4 separate regions of the Homo sapiens genome follow, and regions 1, 2 and 3 are each linked to region 4. Evidence: promoter capture Hi-C in 16 types of primary human blood cells and fetal thymus (Javierre and others, 2016). All regions are on one chromosome and are shown on one strand. Each heading gives the region's core, a stretch centred on a gene start or on the middle of the fragment in contact. The rest is flanking DNA. Distances are from core to core; before and after follow the strand shown.

The links. The method cuts DNA at HindIII sites, captures the fragments that hold promoters and counts their contacts. A CHiCAGO score of 5 or more calls a contact.
Region 1: a contact is called between a fragment that was not itself captured here and the fragment with the promoter of CHST13 in region 4, in 3 of 17 cell types (erythroblasts, endothelial precursors and naive CD8 T cells). The highest score is 5.8, in erythroblasts.
Region 2: a fragment that was not itself captured here is called in contact with the fragment with the promoter of CHST13 in region 4 in 15 of 17 cell types (endothelial precursors, fetal thymus, naive CD4 T cells and 12 more); the score reaches 21.6 in endothelial precursors.
Region 3: a fragment that was not itself captured here is called in contact with the fragment with the promoter of CHST13 in region 4 in 5 of 17 cell types (total B cells, endothelial precursors, total CD4 T cells and 2 more); the score reaches 8.2 in total B cells.

The regions. Positions count from the first base shown.
Region 1 is chr3:127,476,217-127,480,516 of GRCh38, reverse strand. No RefSeq gene overlaps it. Among named protein-coding and RNA genes, the nearest start is that of LINC02034, 59 kb to the left of the region's middle. The HindIII fragment of the contact is 8,521 bases long and covers 1-4,300 here.
Region 2 is chr3:127,453,337-127,457,650 of GRCh38, reverse strand. No RefSeq gene overlaps it. Among named protein-coding and RNA genes, the nearest start is that of LINC02016, 65 kb to the right of the region's middle. RefSeq lists a silencer at 1,627-2,056. The HindIII fragment of the contact is 4,245 bases long and covers 1-3,707 here.
Region 3 is chr3:127,503,876-127,508,380 of GRCh38, reverse strand. All of the region lies in intron 5 of LINC01471 (long intergenic non-protein coding RNA 1471), which reads left to right. Among named protein-coding and RNA genes, the nearest start is that of LINC02034, 31 kb to the left of the region's middle. The HindIII fragment of the contact is 295 bases long and covers 1,959-2,253 here.
Region 4 is chr3:126,521,953-126,526,607 of GRCh38, reverse strand. CHST13 (carbohydrate sulfotransferase 13) reads right to left here and starts at 2,453. Exons shown (of 3, transcript NM_152889.3): 1 at 2,179-2,453. The coding sequence starts at 2,275. RefSeq lists enhancers at 1,066-1,566, 1,567-2,067, 2,128-2,628, 2,629-3,129. The HindIII fragment of the contact is 2,161 bases long and covers 1,782-3,942 here.

The sequences.
Region 1 (4,300 bases), core at 1,050-3,549, 950 kb before region 4:
GGTCTGGACCCTGGCGGGTACAGTGGGATAGAGAGTGGCAGCTGTGAGGCCTTGTCCTCTTCCTGGAGATGCTTCTTGTGTAGGCCTGGCTTCCAGGGGGCCAGGTGCTGCAGGCCGAAGGCGGAGCTGCCTTGAGCCCCCAGACCAGGCTGAGTCTGCTCTGAGCTGAGTCTATGCCATTCAGAGGTTGGCTGGTATACAAACAGCTCCCGGCTCAGGGACAGTCCCAGGGCCCAGCCCAGAGGCTTTCTTAGCCGGGCTGTCTTCTGAGGGGCCTATCTGCCAGGACACTCAGTGTAGCAAGCTCCAGCAAGAGGACACTTTCTCACCACCCAGGGGAAGGGGGCCTTGGGTTGACACAAATAAATCTTACATTTATCAGCAAAATGTGCATTATTTTCTTATTGTTCGAAAACAATTTAGCTGGTAACTATTCTGCCATTTTGCTTATGAAAACATTTAAAACAGAGAAGAATGGGAGGACTAATTGGAAGAAATCGGAATGACTTGCACCTGGATTCAATAATAGTTAAAATTTTTGTATAGTTGCTCCATCTCTTTTCCTCTCTTTATGCATTTTCTCTGTGCGGAACTCTTTGAAAGTAAGTAACAGACATCACAAGGGGACACCCTAAATCCTGCAGCCTGCTTCTTTGAAGAGCGCGTTTTGATCACCCGGAGACCTTCATGAATCTCCAAATTTGCAAACATGCTGTCCTGGGCGTCTGTTGTTTTGCCAGCAGCACAATCCCCTTCAGCTTTCCTTTGGAGAACAAAGTCAGTCTGTGCGGCGTGTGGGGGATGACACCTGCGTCCCCTAGGCCTGGCAGGCTCAGTGGCCCAGTGCCAGCTGACCTCAGGATGCTGCTGGAAGTGGCGAGGTTCCCAGCTGGCTGCATGTGGGTCAGAGCTGCCTGTCTTGCAAGCGTGAGGGGGACCCGCCTGGGGTTGTGGCCACACTCAGGAAAGTAGAACCAATCAGCAGCAGCCAGGGCCAGCCAGGCCCCACGGGAAGGGATTCACTACTTTTTGTTTTGCGAAACCGGTTTGAGTTGGGTTTTTGTCGCTTGCAAGTTGTAAATGACATGATCTTAGCAACTGATTCTCCCATATAATGTCCTCAGTTATGTAAAAATGTTAAATTAATGAGGTGATCAGTTCAAGACTAAAGTAATTTGTGAGAGCATTAAAACAAACTTGGCCGTTAGAGTCAGCTCTCCACTTAGTTACTTTGTGCTGTTATTTTGGTAACCATGGGCTATGAACTCACCTAATCTATAGAGCCCGCCGATGGTGAATGACACAGTCCTCATTTACTTTGTGAGAAGGGCTGTGTTGGTGAGGATGTGGGGGGAAGTGGCCCCAGTGGAGACAGGGGTTCTGAGGGGTCAGCGGGGTACAGGCTCTGGCCAGGGCAGGGGCCTGGGTGGAGCTCCTCACATTCAGGCCTCCGCGACTGCCAAGGAAGTTGCCGCTAGGGAGCTTGGAGTGTTTTATCAATAATAAAAGTTGCCAGTGGTCTACATGAATCCACTAAGACCTCTGCCCCCTGCTTAGAAAGATTCATCAGAAAAGAAAATTAAGAACAGAGATGACATGGAAGATGGGTGGGAGGCCATTCTAGCGGGAGAGAACCATGTGAGCATGGCCATCAGGTGGCCAACGCAGAGAACCTTTCTGTAGCCCTTAGCTTGGCTGAGCCTGAGATTCATTTCTGTGAAATGGGCCCAGGAGACCACTAGGACTGCCCATTCCACATGCTCGGGACCTCTTGAAGGACGGTCTAGCCCCAGATGTCTCCTAAGAGTAAGGGTGCTCCCCTTCATGCAGCGGACTCCTAAGATCCCAAAGAGGAGAATCTGAGAACTTCATGTCCCCAGTTCTGCAGGTGCCACCGGGAGAGGGACATCTGCGGTGTGGGTTGGCCCCCCTTCCGCTCCCCACGGCCTACCTGGAGATTTTTTCTCTTATTATAATAGTCTGTCTGCGTTTAAAAAATTAAAGAGCCCTCAATTTTAAGTGGAAAGACCTTCACATTTACAGTTTTTTTCATTAGATTTGCAGGAAGTTTTTCTATTTTATTAGTTTTTTTCAAAGAACCAGGTCTGGTATTTATTTGTTATTTTCACTGCTTTCATGTTCTCTAATTTATTTATCTGCTTTTATCTTTAGGATTTTCTTTCTCCTATTTTTCTTCAGGTTTGTTCTTTTCTTAAAAATCCGAGGTTGAAAGCCTCATCTCTTCACGTTCTCTTTGCGTGTGTGAGCTGGTTTGACAATAAACACGTTTAAAGTTATGGGCGAGCCTCTGAGGCTGGCGAGGACCGTCCTGTGGGTTTTGATATGTAGGTTTGATTTTCATTGTTTCTGGGTTATCAGTTACTGTGTACTTGATTTCCTCCTTGACCTAGATGTTATTTAGGAGAGTAGTTTTAAATCTCTACTTTTCTTTCTATTTTTAGAAAGTATTTCTAGCTTTATTATATTGTGGTCAAGACTGTGGTCTCTAAAAGATCTGTTTGAAAAATCTTTTTGACATATTCACCGGGACTGATGATATGATCAGCTTTTAACGATGTTCCCTGAACCTTCCCACCAATGGCACATTCTCTGTTTGTTGGGTAAAATGATAAATGCTCACGTATTAATTCTATCTTCTCAATGACATAGTTCATATCCTCTGTGCTTATTTTTTGCTTACTTAATATTCCATAAATGAGTATTAGTGAATTAAAATGTCATGTCTTCTCTCCTTTTATCTCTAACATTTAAAAATGAGTTTTGTGGTTTGGTCTATGAAAGTGTGAGGAAAAGGAACATCAGGATTCACTGAGCCTTTCTTTGATGACCTGAGTGTGGCCTCTGGAGCTGGGCTGCTGGGGCCTCCCGTCCCACTCAGGGCCGCTGTGGAGCTTCCCTGCCTCAGTTTCCTCGTCTCTACAATGGGGCTTGGAGCCATGTTCACTGAGGAGGCTCTTGTCAGGAGATAAGCGCACGCGTGGGGCACAGGAAGCACAGTGCCTGGCTCGCAGAAAATGCTCGAGAGCTGAATACTGGTGCTGCTGTTTTAGTGTTTGTTGGTGTCATGATACAGTGAGCCCCTGGACCACACTTACTGTGTTGGCTTCGTCTGATGTTAGCGCTGCCATCCCTGCTTTCCTTTGTTCAAGTTTAAATTAAACACACACACATACATGCACATGCACACGCGTGCACACAGAGTCCTCCCCACTGTTACATTCCCTTTCTCATGCTTCGTCCACTTGACATGGAGGCCTGAGCCACATCCTCCCCTTCTGAACTCTCCATCAGGCTCTGTCATCCTGCGCCCTCCTAACCTCAGGAGAAGGCTCCCTCGGGCCCACCAGCTGCCCCCGGCAGCTCCTCGTCTCACCCTGCACCAGCGTGGTGTCGCCAGGCACCTTCCATGCTCTCTCTGCCTTTGATTCCTTGCTGAAACATGCTGTTTCAGGCTATTTCTCTTCATCTTCATGACGTCTCTCCTTTCCAGTGAAGCTGCGCTAGTCCGGAGGTGTCTACCTCCTGCCAAACCTCCAGGAAAGTTTCCATCTTAGCAGAGGCAGATCGAAGCACCTGTGTTGTTCTAGACTTCTGATCTCTGCTCGAGGGGCTGTCTCCGGGGCTGAGATAATTCCTGCTGGATCCAAGGAGCCCTCTGGCTTCATGTTTGCTTCAGCTGCTGCAGGACTTAAAGCCAGAATCACACCAGTTGTGGGAGACAGGCCCTACTTTTCTCCCTTCCCTCTTTCCCTCCTTCCCTCCTTCCTCCCTTCTCTCCTTCCTCCTTTCCCATTCCCTCCTTCCCTTCCCCCTCCCCTTCCCACCTTCCTCCTCTTCTCTCCCTTCCTTCCTCACTTGCCTCTTTTCTCCTTCTCTCCCTCCATTCCTCTTTCCTACTCTTTTAAAGCGTCTACTATGTGGCATCAGGCACTGCACTAGGCACGGAGATAAAGAATGAATAAACCAGATGTGGTCTGTGTCAGAACGACTGCTGTGACAATGATAAGCCCCATCAAGTACGGGCAGCAGGGCAGAGAATTGGAACAGCCATGTTGGAAAACTGCTTGGCAGTCCACTGTTGAAGGGTGAACACACTTTTATCCTCTGGCCTAGTGATTCCATGCTTGAGTCTACGTGAAGCAGAAATGTCCACATATGTTTTCCAAAAGACATGTACAAGAATGCACATAGTGGTGTTATTCAAACAACCCCAACCAGAAACAACTCACATGTCCCTTGACATAGACTAAATAGATAAATGTGGGAAATCCCCCTGTGG
Region 2 (4,314 bases), core at 336-2,835, 930 kb before region 4:
TATAGAGGCCTATATACATATACATATATACACACAAACTCACAGATTTTTTTGCCCATTGTTTTATAAAAATGGGATCGTATGTTACATTCTTATCTCCAAATTGCTTTTCTCACCCAATAATACCTTATAGAAATCCCTTTAAGTCTATTGGTAGGCAGGTAATTAAATTTTTTATAAGTTGCATAATATTCCGCTGTGTGGCCGTCCCGCCGCCTGCCCTTCCCCACTCCCCCGTCATGTCCACCTCCCAGCTTACGCCTCGGCAGCTCGGCTTCCAGAGCCCGGAAACGGCGCGCTGCTTCGCACCTCCTCTCCGCGATGCAGCCCGTTCCCTCCGCTGCCTGACTCACACGGCTGCCTCCTACTCACTGGGGATCCATCTGCAGCTCCTTCTCCAGGGCAGCGGCCGGCAGGGCTGGCGGGAGCAGGGGGCGCAGAGAGGTCAGGGGCAGTTGAAGTGGGGCCTCGTGAGCCAGGCCGTGACGGGGCTGGGTCTTGATCCTGGATTGGGGGCCTCCCGGAAGGCTCGAAGCAGGGAGTGCTGTGTGTTAAGAAGCCCTGTAGCTGGCTGGAGACCTGGAACCTGTGCTGGTCGTCCTGTAAGGCAGGGGACCTGGGTCCCTCCGCTCCTCCCCAGGCTCCCCATCCACCCCCTCCCTCTTGGTCCCCGCTGTCTCCATTGGCTTCTCCTCCCCCGTGGTGAGCCAGGCTGTCCTGAGTGTCCAGGGGCAGACGGCCCCCGCCCACCCGCTTCCTGCGGCTCCCCCCAGGCCCTCCGGCTTCAGTCTCCACAGCTGAATCCTGCAGGAAGCCATACAGTGGGAATCTCCGGGCAGCTTCTGGTTCGCCCTCGGGTCTGAGTCACTCTCTGTGCTCTGTCTCCCCACCTCCCCACTTCCTCTCTGGCAGGCACCGATGCCTTCTGCACATTGTTCCCCGGGGAAGGGAACCACCCCTGCCTCACCTGGCGGCTTCCACTCCCGGTGGGGCCGTGGTGCCAGGGGCGGACAGTGCCATGGACAGGGTGGCTGCTTTGGTTCCCAGACTCCCTGAAGCCGCTTGTAGGGCCCTTCTAGAAAGGCCTGTCGTCGGCCCGCCCCTCCCCTGAGGTCAGAGGGCATGGGTCATCAGCAGCCCCGGGGGCTTGTCCACCAGATGCAGCAGGGTGGGGCGGAACAGGCCCTGTGTCTGTTCTAATTGCCCTGTTTCACTTCCGAGGCTACCTGGCTTTTACACCACAGGACGCTGAGTTTCTAATTACTATAGGGAAAGAGAAAAGGAGTTTTCTTTTTCAATAAGTGTATTTAAGTGGAGGAAGATCTGAAGGAAATGCCCACATGACTCTAGTGGGGCCGGGCGCCCAAAACCTGAAGGAGAGTCCGTGAAGAGGCTGGGAGGGTGCCCGCCGGCTGCTGGTGGGCCAAACCCACTTTTCTTCCCGCACTGTTTTGAAAAGCTATTGAATTGTGGGATTCCCAAGCAAACGTGAATTTTCTGGCTTCTTTTGAAAGGTCTGGACACTGGGCAAGGCTGAGAGGGGGAGCAGCGTGCCTCCCCGGCCTCCCTGCTGGGTTCACGGGGGAGAGGTTTGCAGCCCGCGGGCATCCGAGTCCTGCCCAGGCGACTGGGAGGGCCAGGCCAGAAGGGCGTCTCCTGGGGTGGGAGGCCCATGCCGGGCCGCCCCCGGGACTCACGCTGCTCCCAGGCCCTAGAGAGGGCGCCCAGCCCGAGCGCCTGGGACAGGCAGTCGCGCAGTGAGCACCTGTAGAGGCTGGGGTTTGGGCCGTGGCGCTGGCGCCGGCTCGCGGAGCTTCCCTCCCGCCCTCGCGGTCCCCTCTCGGGCTCGGTCCCTTCTCGGGCTCGGTCCCCTCTGCACAGCTAGGGGCCGCTCGGCTGCGGCGCGGCGCTCTGGGGGCGGCAGGGGGCGCTGGCGGCCCGCGGGAACCCTCTGCAGCTCAGGACAAAGGCTGCGGGTGCGGCGCCGAGCCTGCGCTATGCTGGGACCCGGCGATGCAGCCCCGACTGCAGCCCGCTCCAGCCCATCCCGACCGCCAGCGCCGTCGGTAGTCCTCTCCCCCAGCGCACACCTCCGCCTCTCCTCCGCATCCCTCCCCGGCCATCTGTTTTGCACTTCCCCTCTCCATCCCTGGGCCTCTCTGTCTTCTGTCTGCCTCTCTAACTCCAATAAGGGCTGACCCTGTCTCTGAGTGCCCCTTGGGTCCCTGGCATCTCTCTGTTTTTCCTGTTCCAACTGTTTTCTCCGGAGGTCAGTTTGCTCTTCCAGAGAGGAGGCCCTGAGACCACATTAGCAGTGATGGGACCAGCGGAGAAAAAGCACCCCGCCTCCTCCACCTTCGCCTGCCCTTTGGCCTCTGTTGCAGGCTGGGCGCCTCTGACTGCCCACAGATAGTCTTCATGTTAATGCCAGGTCTTACTGGGTTCTCCCTCTGGTCCCACCATGCCCCCTGGGTTGCCTGGGGAAAGGGGGGAGGTTGGGATCCTGGCCTGGGCTCCCTGTGGTTGCGGGCAAAGCTGGTGCTGAATGGGAATGGAAGGCATTCTGAGGCTCCGGGCTGGGCCACGGGACCTGGCCTGCCTCTGCTGTGGCCTGCCGTCCCTGCTTGCCTAAGATCTTCCCTTCCATGTTCCCAGTTCCCTACACAAATAATGAAAATGTAGGGCTCTATGACATTTTCCAACTCTGATCATCTAGACTCTAGTGACATGGATCTAAAATCCCACACTCCTGGTTATCTGACCTTCAAAGCAGGTGCTTTATCCAGTTCTTAAGACAGTACTACGGGGAAAGTGTCAGCACGCCTATTTTATAGATGAGGAAGACTGAGGCCCAGAGAGCCGAAGGAGCTGCTGCAGGGACACCAAGCCCTGTCTGACTCTCAGCCTGGACCTGCTCCCCTGAGCCAGGCTGCTGTGCAAATGGTCAGAGGGCTCCAGGCTTTAGCTGTCAGAGGTTTCTCCACCACTGGAACCTTAGAAGCACAGAGGAGCCACCCTCATATGCCATGTACTGCATGATTCCATAACTGAGAAGTCTTCCTTGTGGTTTGGATGATGTGTCGTGCCAGTTAGGAACACTGAAAAGCAGATGCCAAGATGACGGAGCAAGAAGTGCAAGGGATTTATGGCAGGAATCACCTGCAAGAAATCCAGAGGAGAAGGAGCAGGAGTGGGTGGGGATTGCCTGAGACCATACTGTGGGTTTGAGCCTTCTAAGAAGAGAGAATAAGGCAGGCAGATTGGGTAAGAAGAGTGTTAGCCTGCAGCACAGCTCTGAGAAAATCTCTCCGGCCCAGTGGGACTCCCTGATAGACTGTCCACAGAGGAGCCCCAAGCTGAGCAGGAATGCCCAGGCCCTGGTACTGCTGCCACACTGGGCTTTTGGCTAGCAGAGTGTGGCCTCAGCCTGGCTACTTGGCAGGTTTTGCAGGCACAGCAGCTGCAGGCTGTGGGCTGATTGGGTCCTCAGGGCAGCTCTCTTTGGAAGGCTGAGAAGTTGGGTGGTATGGCTCTGTGGCTGGGGGCACCCACTATTCCAGAAAGCACACAGTGCTTGGAGCCAGCCAGACTTGCCACTTTCCAGCTGGGTGATCTTGAGCAAGTCTCTGAGCCTTGATGGCCTTACCTATAAAGATGATCAGACAGTTGTCTAGAGGATCCTGTGGGTAAAGTGTCTGGCAGAAGCTTGGCAGTAGACACTTTTAAAAGGTGGCTGCTTTGAGATAATTTTTCTTTATCTGAGGAGTTGGTATATCCCCTGCCCTTCTACTCAGAGGGCTGATTAGACCCTAGGTATGACCCCATACTTTTGATTCCTCACTGGGACCATGGGACTAATACTAGTATCTTCTTCACTGGTTCATCTTCCTACCTGTTAGAGGCAATAACATTTTCCTATTGTGTTGTTGGACTGAAAATTGCATTCTTGCTATTTGCCCATTCATTCATTCACCGACTCTGGCCCAGCACATCACCCTGTTTTATCTTCTCCATCTTAAGCCATCTTGTTTATTGAAGTGTTAATTGTCCTTAAGCTCTGGGAAGACTTGGCTCTTGTCAAAACTGTTCACAGCTGTGTCTTCAGAGCCTAGCTGCAACACCTCTTTGTCGAATGAGTAAATATATTTACCAAGAGCCTACCTCTTCTCATGTAGGGGTAGCATGTGGCGCCTCACGTCTAGGTGCTCCTAGTTCAGTGGAAAGCTGGACATGGACTGGATTTTAAACACTATATTATCAGAGCTGGGGCAAAGAAGGCACGTGGGGTTTTGGCTGGGTTTGGAGAGGGCTAGG
Region 3 (4,505 bases), core at 857-3,356, 980 kb before region 4:
CGTGATCCACCTGCCTTGGCCTCCCAAAGTGTTGAGATTACAGGCGTGAGCCACTGCGCCTGGCTAAGGGTTTATTAAAAAGCTTTTGGTTATGTTGCTTCTTTCTATTGTATGCTTGTTTTCTACTTTGTTTTTATTTCTGCTCTTCTTTATTTTTCTATTTTCTTGTTTTGTAGTAAGTTTTGAAATCAAGAACCTTGACTCTTCCTACTTTGTTCTTTTTTTTCAAGATCATTTTGGCCATTCTGAGTCTCTTGCTATTCCATATGAATTTTAGAATCAGGTTGTCCATTCCTACAAAAAAGTCAGCTGGTATTCTGATAGGAATTGCACTGACTCTGTACATCAGATTGGTGAGTAGTGCTATTTTAACAATGTTTAGTCTTTCAGTCCACAAACATGGGATTTTTCCCATTTATTTAGATCTTTAAAATTTCTTTGAGCAATATTTTACAGTTTTTAGAGTATAAGTTTTGCTCTTCTTTTGTTAAATTTATTCCTAAGCATTTTATTCTTTTTGAATTGTAAATGAAATTGTTTTCAATGTAAATGAAATTGTTTTCTTAATTTTATTTTGGATTGTTCATTGAAATTGTGTAAACATATAATTGATATCATGCAAAGGAAAAAATAAGAGAGGAAGGTAATCTTGATGACAGTGTTTGAGACCTGGTTTCAGCTAAAGTGTATATTATTCCTTGACCATTCAGTTATCACTACTACCACTATTGAAATTACTACTATTACTATTTTGATTTAGTCTTCTCTTACTTGCAATCAAATGTTTATTGATTTGTTACTTGTATATTTTGGTTCAGCAATTAAAATAAATGTACTATAGTAATAGAAGATGTTAATATTAGAGGTTAGAGGGCTCTGGGTGTAGGATATAAAGAACTCTTTGTACTATCTTTGCAACTCTTTTTAAAATTTAAAACTATTCTAAAATTAAAGGTTTATTTAAAAATACAATTGATTTTTTTTTTTTGACAGACCCTCACTCTGTCACCCAAGTTGGAGTGCAGTGGGGCAGTCTTGGCTTACTGCAACCTCTGCCTCTCGGGTTCAAGCAATTCTCCTGCTTCAGCCTCCCAAGTAGCTGGGACTGCAGGCCTGTGCCACCACACCTGGCTAATTTGTGTATTTTTAGTAGAGACTGGGTTTCACCATCTTGGCTAGGCAGGTCTTGAACTCCTGACCTCAAGTGATCTGCCTGTCTCCACCTCCCGAAGTGCTGGGATTACAGACGTAAGCCACTGCGCCCAGCAAAAATACAATTGATTTTTGTATATTAATTTTGTATTCTGCAACCTCGCTCAACTCATTTATTAGTTCTAATAGTTTTTTAATAGATTCCTTAGGATTTTCTATTTTCTTTTTTTTTTTTTTTTTGAGACAGCGTCTCACTCTGTCACCCAGGCTGGAGTGCAGTGGCACAATCTTGACTCACTGCAACCTCTACCTCCCAGGTTCAAGTGATTCTTGTGCCTCAGCCGCCCCAGTAGCTAGGAGTACAGGTGTGTGCCACAATGCTGGCTAATTTTGGTATTTTTAGTAAAGACACGGTTTTGTCATGTTGGCCACGATGGTCTCAAAATCCTGACCTCAAGTGATCTGCCTGCCTCGGCCTCCCAAAGTCCTGGGATTACAGGTGTGAGCCACCATGCCTGGGCCCTTAGGGTTTTCTATGTACAAGATCATGTCATCTTCAATAGATAGAGTTTTACTTCTTTCTTTGTGATCTGAATGCCTCCTGTTCTTTTTTCTTGCCTAATTACCCCAACCGGAACCTCCAGTACAATGTTGAATAGAAATGGTGAGAGCATACATCCTTGTTTTGTTTCTGGTCTTAGGAGGAAAGTATCCAGTTTTTTACCATTGAGTATAATTTTAGCTCATTTAGCTGTTATTCTATTGGTATGGTGATTTAATTGATTTTTAGTTGTTGAAACCAAGCTTGCATTCTTAGGATAAATCGAACTTGGTCATGGAGTTTGATTTGTTTTATATGTTATTAAATTTGATTTGCTAGTATTTTGTTGAGGATTTTTGCATAAGAGGTATTGGTCTGTAATTTTCATTTCTTGTGCTATCTTCACCTGGTTTGGATAGTAAGATAATATTGGCCTCATAAAATGAATTGGAAAGTATTTCCTCCTCTTTTACTATTTGGAAGAGTTTGTGAAGAATTTGTATTAATTCTTCTTTAAGTATTTGATAAAATTCAGTGATTAAGCCATTTGGACTTAAGCTTTTCTTTATGGGTAGTTTTTGATTACTAATTCGATCTCTTTACTTGTTAAAAGTCTATTCAGATTGTCTATTTACTTTTGAGTCAGTTCCTGTAGTTTTGTTTTTGTCCTTCTATGGAAGGACATTTCTTCTAATTTATTGAGTTTTTTGGATACAATTGTTCATAATATTTCCTTATAATCTTTTTATTTCTGTAAGGGTAGTAGTAATGTCTTCTCTTTAATTTCTGATTCTAGTAATTTGAGTCTTCTTTCTTTTCTTATTGAACAATCTAACTAAAGGTTTGTCAATTTTGTTGATCTTTACAACAAACTGGCCTTGAATTAACTGCTTTTCTTTATTGTTTTTCTATTCTTTGTTTCATTAATTTCTGCTCTAGCCTTTATTATTCCCCTTCTTTGATTGCTTTAGGTTTAGTTTGCTCTTCTTTCTCCAGTGTCTTAAGGTGGAAGATTAGGTTATTGATTTGAGATCATTCCTTCTTCTTAATATAGGCACTGCAGCTATAAATTTCTGTCTAAGCACTGCTTTAGCTTTATCCTATAAGTTTTGGTATGGTGTGTTTTCATTTTCATTCTTGTCAATGTATTTTTAAATTTGCCCTTTTATTTCTTTTTTGACCTATTGGTTATATAAGGGTGTGTTTAATTTCCACATATTTCTGAGTTTCCCCAAATTTTCCATTGTTGATGTCAAATTTTATCCCAATTGTGGTCAGAGAACATACTTTGTGCTAGTTCTATTCTTTTAAATTTGTTAAGGTTTGTTTTATGGCCTAATATACGGTCTATCCTGGGGAATGTTTCATGTGCTCCTGAGAAGAATGTATATTCTGTTGTTGTTGAGTGGAGTGTTCTATAGAGATGTCTGTTAGGTCTCATTGGTTTATAGTGCTGTTCAAGTCTAATATTTCATTATTAATCTTCTGTCTAGTCTTTCTATCCATTATTGAAAGTGAGGTTTTAAAGTCTTCAACTGTTATTGCTGAATTGTATATTTCTCCCTTAGTTTCTGTCAATTTCACTTCATGTATATTGATGCTCTGTTATAAAATGCATACGTGTTTATAATTGTTATATCTTCCTGATTGATTGACTCTTTTATCAGCATGAAATGTCTCTCTGTCTCTAGTAACAACTTTTTTCTTTTCTTTTTTTTTTTTTTTTTTTTGAGACAGAGTCTCGCTCTGTCGCCCAGGCTGGAGTGCAGTGACACCATGTCGGCTCACTGCAAGCTCCGCCTCCCGGGTTCACGCCATTCTCCTGCCTCCGTCTCCCCAGTAGCTGGGACTACAGGCGCCCGCCACCACGCCCGGGTATTTTTTTGTATTTTTAGTAGAGATGGGGTTTCACCGTGTTAGCCAGGATGGTCTCAATCTCCTGACCTCGTGATCCATCCACCTCGGCCTCCCAAAGTGCTGGGATTACAGGCTTGAGCCACTGCGCCCGGCCCTTTTTTTGTTTTAAACTCTATTTTGTCTGATATCAGTACAGCCGCTTCAGCTTTCTTGTACTGTTTGTATATTTCTTTTTCCATACTTTACTTTCAATGTTTTTGTATCTTTGAATCTAATCTGAATCTAATCTTGCCCTCTTATACACAACATATAGTTGTATCATGTTTTTTTAACCAAGTCCAACAATCTCTGCATTTTTTAATTCATTCACATTTAATGTTGCTATTGATATTGTTGGATTTACATCTGCCATTTTGCTTTATATTTCTATATGTCTCATGTCATTTTGTTTCTCTATTACTTCTTTCTTGCTTTTTTACACTAAGTGAATATTTTCTAGTTAGGATTTTAGTTTCTTTAGTGTATTTTCTAATTTATTTTTATGAGTTTTTTTATTGATTGCTTTTGGGTTCACTGTACATCTTATCAGATTCAGCTTTAGATTTATACTAACTTATGGTGATATGTAGAAGCCTTACTAGTATATAGCTCTATTCACTTTTCCCTTTTCTTGTGGTATTATTGTTATGCATGTTACATCTATCAATGTTATAAACTTAATGATAAATTGTTGATTATTACTTTACCATCTGTCATCACATCCTTAGTTCAATACAGCTCTGCTTCTACCCACCTCTTTCGTGTCATTATTGACAAATACATTACACATAATAATACATTTCTCTATGTCACAGGCCCAAAATTACATTATATACACATTATTTTATACAATTGCTTCTGGTTTTTTTTTTTTGAGTTAGGGTCTTGCTCTGTCACCCAGGCTGGAGTACAGTGG
Region 4 (4,655 bases), core at 1,204-3,703:
CCCCAGGCCTGAGCCAGTAGCCCTTCAGTGGCCCCTTGCCCAACTTACGGCAGCACCTCTGGCTCTGGAGAAGGAGGGGACAGTGCTGGGCCTCTTGCTCTGGAGAAGGAGGGGACAGTGCTGGGCCTGCCCTCCTGGGAGAAGGGGCTGAAATCCCTCCTGAGTTCTGGAGCCCTCATCCCCAGGCCAGAAGCCCTCACAGGGCACAGACCACATCCCTTCCAACTCAGGCATGGCTGCAGAGACACTGCAGGCCCTCGTGAGGCCATTTCCAGAGGCCAAGGGCAGGGGATGCCCCTCCAGCAGGACTAGCCTGGCAGGAAAAGGCCTTTCCCAGCTGAGTGCCCTCCCTGTGTGCCACCTGCAGGCCCACAAGCATAGTCTCAGCCAAAGCTTCAGCTCAGGGCTTGGGAGAGAGAAAAGCCAGTGTGAGAGGCTGGATAGGTTGGTCTGATTAACTCTTGCTCGCCCAAGGTCACTCACAAAGCTGTGATGGCTGGAGACAGGCCATGGGAGAGGTACAAGAGCGCTTGACAGAAACAGAGAGAGATGCTGAGATGCTGGGTGAGGTCATGGCCAAGAGCAGGACAGGCCAGGTGGAGAGCCCAGCCTGCGCAGAGGCTGGGAAGGGAGGTTCGGAGCCGTCCTCCTAACACCTGCTGTCTCTTCCCAGGCTCTGCAGGAGAGGGAGGGAGGTCAGAAGGAACAAAGCCCAGAAGGTGACTAGTACCTTGGTTTGTTTCTCATCCCTCAAACCTGGGTAGAGTAGGTGACAGGAGAGAGGTGTCCCACGGAGACATGGGGACGCAGACACTCCATGCAGTCACTCAAAGATGTATGCTCCTTTGCAGACACTCCCCGGGACCCAGGCACTCAGGTGTCCTCTAACATCCCACGCTGAGCCCTGAGGGGCCAGTAGCCACCAAGTTCTGCCCTGTCTTAGTACTGGGTAAACATCTGTCTACTGAATGACTCGGTGGACAGAGGCTGTGGCAGCCACAGACACTGAGTCCACACCCCAGACTGCCAGGAGATTGTCTGCTCAACACCACCAGACAGCTCACAGAAGGGGTTGTGGGGGTGCTGGAAAGAGACACCCCAGCCCTATCCCATGGGCTTGGGGAGGCATCCAGGTCTGACCTGCTGTGTCTGGACACACAAGGGGCAAGGGGCAGTGTGAGGGTCAGGGGGAGTGGGCAGAGGCCTCCCCAGGCCCTGATATCCTCAAGTCTTGGGCCACTCCCACCCCCACTGCCCAACATCCCCGCCCACCCTGGACCTAGTTACTTACTCCCTGGGACTGTGTCTGCCAGGTTCCAAGGGTGGGGCCCAGGATTCTCAGAGCCCACACTGGGGGTGGGGAGGCGGACTGAGTCGTCCCACCCAGCACGCATACCACATACAAGGAAAGGCAAACAGCCCTGAGGTCAGGAGACCCGGGCGCTGGCTGGGCCCCTCCAGTCCCAAGTAGATTGTATAGCCAGCACGTTGCCACCACACCTGTCTCCCCACTCTCTGGCCCGCTTCAGATTGTGTGAAATGGGTTGATGGGAGGCTTCACATGAGCTGAGGAGAGACTCAGAGCAAAGACTCAGCACCGGTGGAGCCCAGGGCACTCAGCTCTGCGGAGTCATGACTAACTGCCTCAGTTTCCCCAGCCAGACCACGAGTGGGTGCACAGGAGTCCCAAGCCCTACCCAGTGTGGATTTCAGGGTGGAGCAGGGAGTGGCACCCACTGCACAGTAGGACAACCAAGGGACCGGACCGAGTGGCCCAAGCTTCCCCTCCTATGCGCATGCGCCCAGCAGCGCTCATGTCCAGGGGCCGTGGGGTGCGCAGGGGAAGGGGGTGAAGGTAAGGGAGATGGCCTTCCCGGATTGGCCAATTGTCCTCTACCCCCCACAACTGACCCCGGTCTCCAGGCACCGGCTGTGGGACTCAAAACAGTCACCGCTCTGGGAGTGGGGAGGTAACTCCGGAGGAGGAGCAAGAGCCTTTGCTCGCGGGGGCGTCTAGAGCCTTTCTGTGCCTCACCAGCGCCCCTGCCCGCCACCCCTAGCCCCAGCCAGGAAGGAGACAACAGGTGTCCCCCGCGCTGTCGAGGGGTCAGGCCGCGGTGGAAAGCGCGAGGAGCCAGGTTTGGTTGGGGGTGCGCGGCTCGGCCGGCGGGCACTCACCCGGGCGCAGGGAGCGGGGCGCGGCGCATAGGAGCAGGAGCGCGGCGCCCAGACAGGCGGCCGCCAGCACGCGCCGCCGGCAGCAGCGCCTCCCCATGCTGTGCCGGGCGCGCGGCGGAGGACAGTCCGCTGGATACGGCTGGGGGCGGAGTTGCACTGGCCCAGGACCCGGCCCCGGCAGCGCAGCGCCTACCAAGACGCGCGGCGCGGCGCAGGGCAGGGGAGCACGGCAGCTGGACCCCAGCCCCACCAGCCCCTGCGAGTCGCTGGGGACTGAGGAGGCGGGACACGGTGGGGCCGCAAGCCCGCTCCTCTTTTCGTGCCCCCACCCTCACCCAATGGAATGGGGCCGAAGTCCAGGGCGCTAGGGCGGAGACTGATTGGGGAAGCCCCTCGCCTCTGGGCCCCGCCCCTAGGGTTTGCCCAGGGGTGCCATTATCCACCCAAGGCCAAGAGGCATTGTCGCGGTGGCGTGCCCCACCCCGGGCGGTGTCCCCTTGCCTTTTTGCTGCCTTAGATGCCAGGGGCCCAAGGGCTGATCTGGGATGAACCAAGGAGCCTAGTAGAGCGTTGCCCTGTCCATGGCTCTCCGGGACCCCCGCCCTCAGTAAGAGGCCTAAGAGTGTCCCTCCCTCCCCGACCCAAGGCTACCCTGCAGCCTTGCTTTCCTCCAGGGTCTCCAGGTCCTGCCTGAATCTAGCTCATGCAGGTGGCACTAGCCTTTGCACAGAGAGGTAGGGTCTCAGCTTACATCCCCCGGGGAATGGAGCTTGTGCCTCATCGTGTCACCCACAACTTCTCTGGGCACCACGTGAGCTCTGAGGACTTGCCAGGGACTGTGTGTGTGTGTGTGTGTGTGTGTGTGTGTGTGTGTGTTGGGGGGTGGAGGGGGCGAGGTGAGAGTAAAGTCCAGCCTTTGAAAGACACACACATCCAGCTAGCCCTGTGGGCAGGAGCCCACGTCTAACCGCAGGGTCTTGCTGCCCAGAAGTCAGGCTAGCAGGGAACGGGAGGGTGCAGCTGGCACTGGGTGCGCGGATGAGTGCGTTGGAAACAACATTTAGCAGTGTGAGTGCATGGGATAGGGTACTACATTACACTGTAGGTTTTTTTTGGAGTTTTTTGTATAAATGTAAGGGACACAAGTGCAGGTTTGTTACATGGAGATATGCAGTGGTGAGGTCTGGGCTTTCCGTGTAACCATCACCTAAATAATGTCCATTGTACCCATTAAGTAATTCCTCATCCCTCCCACCTCGCTCACTCTCCTACCCTTCCAAGTCTCCAGTGTCTATTATTCCACACTCGAAGCTCCAGTTGTTAAACTGTTCTTGAAAAATGTGGTGACTCCAAACCCACCTGGTGCCGCTTACTGCTGTGGGAGATTAGGAAATTAACTGCACCTCTCTGTTTCCCATTTTCCTGTACGGGGGGATAATCCTAAACCTCAGTGCTGTGAAGATTAAATGAGATACAGGAAATGTTTGCAACAGTGTCTGGCACTCAGTGAGTGCCAGGTAAGTATTTGATATTAGTAATTAATTTGTTTATGGTTACTGCCTGTTTCTGGCAAGTGGCTGGTTTCTGTTAAAGTGGTGAAATAAAAATTTCTCCCTACTATATTTATTTAAGTTGTGGAAGATCTATTTAAGGAAGAATATTAAGCAAATAATAGTTCTGCTGGTTTTGAGATACAGCTTTAAATGGTGATGATGTTCTCAAAGGACAGGGGTGGGAGTCCAGACTCACAGTAAGCTAGAAGCTTCTTATCATGACTTTTCTGGCCTTGGGGAACCTCTAGCCCACCCCCAGACTGGCCCAGGACCCAGGGATTCCAGGTCATCTGCATTCCCTGCCGGACCTAACTCGCATCCAAAGGTGCCTTCCAAATTTCCCCAGACCGGCATTCCCTGGCCTCACTGCCAGCCTGGAATCCTCAGCGCGCTTTGCCCTTATATGCTGCCACCTGGTGGCCAAAGTTGGGAATAACATCTCAGCCCTTCATCCGGAGATGTCCCTGGAAATGGGGTCCCTGGAGAAAGGAAGAGATGGTCTTGGGTCTTGGGGTGGGAGGGTGCAGATGCCTGGCTAGACGCCCGGGGCCTAGGGAGCTTCCCTGCGAAGACGCCCTCTCCCAGGGACTCGCATTCATTCATTCATTCGACAGATACAGAACACCCACTCCGTGCTGAGGCCTGGGTGGAGAGGGTGAGACCCATGCAGTGTCTGCCCTCACAGCATTTCCATTACAGATTGGAAGCACGGAAAATCAGGATAGAGAGATAGAGCGGTGAATGCTGCTGTGAAGAAAACACAGCGGGTACCAGGATGAAAAGTGTGTCCGGTGCAAGGAGGGTGCCGGGGCAGGCCTGGGGGAGGTGGCATTGGAGCAGAGATGTGACTCCAGGGAGCAGAAGCCAGCAGGTACCATTGCAAAGGCCCTGAGGTGATGTTCCAGTTGCTGTTGCTAGGTAACA